2 separate regions of the Homo sapiens genome follow, and region 1 is linked to region 2. The links are contacts of gene promoters, found by promoter capture Hi-C in blood cells and fetal thymus (Javierre and others, 2016). All regions are on one chromosome and are shown on one strand. The core of a region is centred on a gene start or on the middle of the fragment in contact, and the rest is flanking DNA. Distances in the headings are between cores, read along the strand shown. Region 1 has its middle 4.9 kb from the start of DYNLT3. Region 2 holds the start of XK (X-linked Kx blood group antigen, Kell and VPS13A binding protein).

The links. Contacts are between HindIII fragments. The CHiCAGO score rates a contact against its expected background, and 5 or more counts as called.
Region 1: a fragment that was not itself captured here is called in contact with the fragment with the promoter of XK in region 2 in 1 of 17 cell types (naive B cells); the score reaches 5.0 in naive B cells.

Annotation. Positions count from the first base shown.
Region 1 is chrX:37,851,003-37,853,944 of GRCh38, reverse strand. No RefSeq gene overlaps it. Among named protein-coding and RNA genes, the nearest start is that of DYNLT3, 4.9 kb to the right of the region's middle. The HindIII fragment of the contact is 1,064 bases long and covers 827-1,890 here.
Region 2 is chrX:37,684,528-37,687,675 of GRCh38, reverse strand. XK (X-linked Kx blood group antigen, Kell and VPS13A binding protein) reads right to left here and starts at 1,885. Exons shown (of 3, transcript NM_021083.4): 1 at 1,470-1,885. The coding sequence starts at 1,714. RefSeq lists enhancers at 1,073-1,582, 1,583-2,094 and a silencer at 1,764-2,143. The HindIII fragment of the contact is 2,462 bases long and covers 1,002-3,148 here.

The DNA of each region.
Region 1 (2,942 bases), core at 109-2,608, 170 kb before region 2:
CATCATCTATTATAGCATTTAAGTTGGTCACACAACCACCTGCAATCAAAAACATTAGCTATGATCAGTGGAGGTAAAAGGGAGAGGGGATGAAGTAACACAGAATAGTTGCTATAGTCCTTGCCTCTGTAGCTGGGCAAGTGGATGGATATTGATGGAGAAAAGTGATAGGCTATACTGGATTCCTGAACCTATTCCTTATAGATCTGCTATATCCACCATCCCAGCACACAGCATTGTAAATAAATCCTCCCTGAATTAATATTTTGGGAGTTTCATCTGCTTCCTACAGAGACTCTGACTAATATGTTCTTTCATCAGTTTTGGAAGACCTTCAGCTAATATTTCATTAAATATTGTTTCTGTCCATTCTGTCTCATCTCCTTCTGGAAATCTCACTATGTATGTTAAACTTTCTCATGGTATTACTTTTGTCTGTATGCTTTCTTCTGTATTTTACATTAATTTATGTCTCTGTGCTTTACTCTGGCTATTTTATTCTGTCCATTTTTTTTTTTCTGAGAGAAAGTCTCACTCTGTCACACAGGCTTGAGTGCAGTGGCATGATCTCAGCTCACTGCAAGCTCTGCCTCCTGGGTTCAAGCCATTCTCCCGCCTCAGCATCCCGAGTAGCTGGGACTACAGGTGCCCACCACCACGCCTGGCTAATTTTTTTGTATTTTTAGTAGAGACGGGATTTCACCATGTTAGTCAGGATGGTCTCGATCTCCTAACCTCATGATCTGCCCCCCTTGGCCTCCCAAAGTGCTCGGATTATAGGCGTGAGCCACTGCGCCCCGGTCTATTCTGTCCAATTTTTTAAGCTTCACTTAATCTTCAGCTTTGTAGGAACCACTATAGAATCGATTCTTTGTTCTTTTTAAAAAATTGGTTACTGTATTTTCTACTTCTAGAAATTCCATTTGTATACTTTTTATAATTTCAAGTTATTGGATGAAATTCTCAACCCTGTCTTTTATCTCTTTTAATATAGTAAGCATAGTTATTTTAAAGTCTATTTCTGATAACTCCATCATCTTCATCCCTGATTGGGCTGTTTCCATTGTCTTTTGATTTAAGATAATGTTGTTTTGTCTCGTTATGTGTCTAGTTATATTTTATTGTCCACTTGATGTATGCAAAAAATCATATGTCTGATTTGAGACCTAAGATAATGTTTTCTTCCTTCAGAGAGAATTTACATTGGCTTCTAGAAGTTGGCTAGAGGCATTAGCAATTCCGGATCACCTTAATTCAATTTTAGGGGTTTGGGTAATTTAAAACTGAGATTCAGTCTGCAAGATCAAGTTTGAGTGTTTCACTCCCAGGGTTTAATCCATGGGGTTTCAACCCAAAGCAAGACTGTTTACCAGAATCATCTTCCTTGGCAGGACATGCAGTCTGATTATTTTACCCCTTGGCCCATAAGCAAAAGGCTTAACATCTTCTCACCTCGAGGTAAAAAGTTATCCCAAATGCCATGCTCATCTTTCTGGGTTTCATTATTCTATGTCTTAGATCCATAATTCTTCCCTATCTTGTTAAAAAATCCAATTCCCTTGAGCAAATGTCTATTATATTTTGTCCAACCTTTGTAATTATCAGTGAAAGAGATGGTCCTAATTACATAGTCTACCATTACAGAAGTCTTTAAATATAATTTTAGTGGTTTGTAAAGTGGGTCCAAATGTTTTTTATCAGCTGCTTCTATGGCAAACCTTTCTAGACAATATAATTTATTCATATTTAGGGAAAATTAATTATTAAAAACTCATTAACAGGAATTGCTTATGGCTGTTCAATGCGTAGAGCCAGATATAAAATATTATATGGGTGAAACCAAGATTGAGGGTCTCACTAAAGCATTGAAAGAGGTTTTATTTGGAAGCTTTAAAAAATTCAATTTTAACACCCTTTCTATTTTATTTTTTCATATAATTATATAAAGTAATGAAAATATTTTTTCACCAAGCCCCATACAGATGCCCACCAAGCCCCTCCAGTTTACCTCAATGTACCATGTAAGTATTATCCTCTATGTGGGCCATAGCATGGAAAAGTTTGGAAAGGACTGACCTACCAACATTTACTTTATATCAATTTTTTTTTTCTTGCTGGCAGAACTCACTTTTCACCATACAGAATGAAAAAACAAACATTTGTTGTCCCATATGTTTTGCCCGGTGGGGAGTCACGTGGCCCAATCTTGGCCACTGGAACCTGAGGAGAAAACTCCTGAGGACTTGAAATAAAGATTTTCTTTCCTAAGAAAATCCGATCAACCCCAGAAAATGCTCATCTTAGTCACTGAACGTGATATCTTTGTTCCTAGCGATACCAGAACTAATGCAGCCGTGTATGACCATGAGGCTAAATGTTGCTGACATGCTGAGGATATTGGCATGGAAAGATGAAAAGCACAGAAGCCCCAAAATTTGTTGAGCAACTAAACGAACCTGGAATATCTCTGCCTCTGTATGTCTGTGTATTAGTCTATTCTCTCATTGCTTTACAGCAATGAGAAATACCTGAGACTGGATAATTTATGAAGTAAAGAGGCTTAGTTGGCTCGTGGTTCTGCAAGCTGCACAGGAAGCAGAGTGACTCCTGCTTCTGGGGAGGCCTCAGGAAACTTACAATCATGGTGGAAGGTGAAGGGGAAGCAGGCACATATTACATGGCTAGAACAGGAAGAAGAGAGAGAGGAGGGAGGTGCTACACACTTTTAAGCAGCCAGATCTCATAATAACTCACTCACTTACTCTCACAAGAACAGCACTGAGGGGATGGTGCTACCCATCATGAGAAATCTGCCTCCATGATCCAATCACCTCCCACCAGGCTCCACCTCCAACACTGGGGATTACAATTCAACATGAGATTTGCTGGGGACAGATCCAAACCATATCAGTCTGGTTATATAAAAAAATAAATGCCATTAT
Region 2 (3,148 bases), core at 636-3,135:
GGTGCAAAAATTTTATGGCCAGGCGTGGTAGCTCATGCCTGTAATTCCAGCACTTTGGGAGGCCTGGGCAGGAGGATCATTTCAGCTCAGGAGTTCCAGACCATACTGGGCAACATAGAGAGAACTTTAGGAGGCCCAGACAGGAGGATCACTGGAACTCAAGAGCTCGAGACCAGCCTGGGCAACATAGGGAGACTCTGTCTCTACAAAAAATACAAAAAAAAAGAAAGAAAAAAGAAAATTAGCCAGGCATGATGGCGCTTGCCTGCAGTCCTAGCTACTCTGGAGACTGAGGCAGGAGTATCACTTGTGCCCAGGAGGTGGAGGATGCAATGAGCTATGATCTTGCTACTGCACTCCAGCCTGGCTGATAAAGCAAGACCTTGTCTCAAAAAAAAAAAAATTATAACTTTGTAAAATTTATCTTGCTCCTCAATGTGTGTGTGTGCGTGTGTGTGTGTGTGTGTGTGTGTGTGTGTGTAAGAGAGAGAGAGAAAGAGAGAGAGAGAGAGAGAGATTTCCTGGTAGGGCTAGCTGAATTTTCTGGCAGCTGAGGTGTCTCTCTGGCCTTTCCATCTCTTCAAATTCCTCTGTCGCCTATGTCTAAAATTCAGTATTATAAACTTATTTCTAATCCAAATGGACGGCCTTTGTTTTGCTTTTCCTATAGTGATGAAAGGTACTAAAACAACACATTTTAAACTCCTTAGATAAGCCAGTCTGTTTTATTACCATGTATTTCTACTTGCTTTGTGTTAATAAAAATTAATTTCCAGAAATGTCACCAACAGTTTTTCTTTACTTAACACACAGCAAGTTTTGTTTTCATGGTGCATTGTGCACCAGCTTTAATGGCTACGTTTATAAGTTTGCCAGGGCCGGAAGACATTTCTAGAACCCCATATGTTTCCATATCCCATAATATTCGTAACGCCACCAAGAGAAAAGAATGGTGCATGGATTTCTTGACTTCCCTATGAGAATTAAATACTGTTAAAGCTTTTAGAACAGTGCTTGGCACACAGTAAGCTCCATGTGTTTGATAAATTAAAATTAAATCACCTGTACATGCTGTCCCCGTAACCACAGCTTAGAACACACTTCCCAAGGGTTTGTGACAACACAAGCCAATCCTGTCAGAGCCTACTTGACCCCAGAGAAACCAATGTCTTTAATGAGGTTGAACCACAAGAAACTGCCATTTTTGTTGGTCAATTTCAGTTGAATGTTGGCTATTTCATTTGACGGAACCTAACAGGAATTCAGTGTGCCCCAACTTTATAACCATTATGCCATGATTCGTCGCGTTCCTGACTGGAATAATGGGGCTGAGGGGCATGGCGGACCGGCTTGGGGCTCAGCCACCTGTCTCCACAGGAAAACCGCCTCCCTCCACTCGAGCAGGTGGGGAGATCAGGCTACAGGACCGAGGCTGCGGCCTGGGGCTGGCTCTGGGCTTCTGCACGCACCTGAAAAGGGGCCCAAGTTGCAGCAGGTGCAGCAGCAGTACGAGCGGGCGGTCGCGGCTGAGGTCGCGGTGTACGAAGAGAAGCGTGAGCTGCACGAGCGCGCAAGGCAGTAGCGAGAAAAGCAACGTCAGCGCCTGCCACATGCGGTCCCCGCCCGAGCGGTAGGTGCTGCTCAGGCTGAGCGCCGCCGTTGTCTCGGCCACGAACAGGAACACGGACGCCAGCACCGAGGCCGGGAATTTCATCTCCGCGCGTCAGCGGCGCTCACCGGGGACGGACGCAGTGGCGGCGGCTGTGTGGCTGTGGCGGCGGCGGCCGTTGCCCGAGGGGCTCCCAGCATGCCCAGCCCCAAACCGCTCCCGCGCTCTGCGCAGCCCGCCGAGGGCACGCGGGCCCGGCCGACCGGCCTGGGCTCTGGAACTGGACCTGGTGGGGGCGGCCGACCTGGCTGGGGTGGGGTGGGGTGGGGCGAGCTGCGCAGCCCCGCCGGGACACGCCCACGCGCTCCGTGCGCCGCCTGCTCGCTCGCTCGCCAGTGCCGGCTGCGTCTCTGTGGTGACCGTCCCCTGGCGGGCCGCGAACCCGCGCCCTACGACGGCTCAGGCCATGGAGCGGGAGCTCAAAAGGATGCAGTTCGCCCTGCGGGCGTCGCGCGCAGCCTCTGGGTCCTAGAGTCCCTTGGGTCCTATCTTGGGAAACCGTTCACATCCCTTTGAAAAACTGCAACCACCCGGGCCCAGAATTGGAGTCCGGGCGCCTTTCTAGCCCAGTCTATTTTCTGGGCCGAGGAAACGCGTGATTCTTCAAAGGGCCAGCATTTCTGGCCTTTTAAAAATAACCAGACCACACAGAGGCTTTTCAAAGTGCAAGTATATTGTCATGCACCCACCACCAAGTGGGAAAAGATTTCACTTTTCACTGTGCCATGTGAGCATGTCCCTTTGTCTTCCAAATACAGTGGTCTGAAGCATTGCTTCCAGTGGTGAAAAGGCGTCAAAGATCGTCTCTAGGAACCTGTCCTTACCTCCCAGAAAAACTGCCTACAAAATATATTCCTCTGTAACTGTAAGTAATTCAGGGCAAAGATCAGGGCCTAATAAGGAAGTAGTTTTTTTTATTCCAAGACAGACCTCTGCTTATTGGTGTGCCAATACCAAGACTAACACAACTCCTTTTAGCCCATTGAACTTTCCACCATCTTCTTGATATCAGGATGTACTCAGTCCACCCCCGTCCCTCAGACCTCGATCAAGTCACTAAATCTTTCTGAAACTCAGGTTCCATAAAGGGATTAGACTTAAATAATTATAAGATCTCTTCCCCTGTTGAAATTGGGTGATTTCAATCTTCAGGCATCTCTGGCATTTTTCTATTTAGGAAAATAATGTAAACACAAATAGAATATAAAGATTCAAAAGGAATCAAACCAAAAAAGAGGTACAGGGAGAGAATGTGGTGGGCTGTTTTTCTGTTTTTTATGTGGCATGAGAAAATCCATTTATGAGTTAAGGGGCAGATTCAGCCAGCAGCTGAGAGGTAGCAGGCCCTTTCCCTAAAAGGATTACTAATGTCTATTTATAGAACCCAGAAGGCCACCATGTCCTGGGCCAAGATACATACACTGCCACAAATACAGAATCAGCAGCAACACTCCACAGAGTATTTGTGTAATGTTTTAC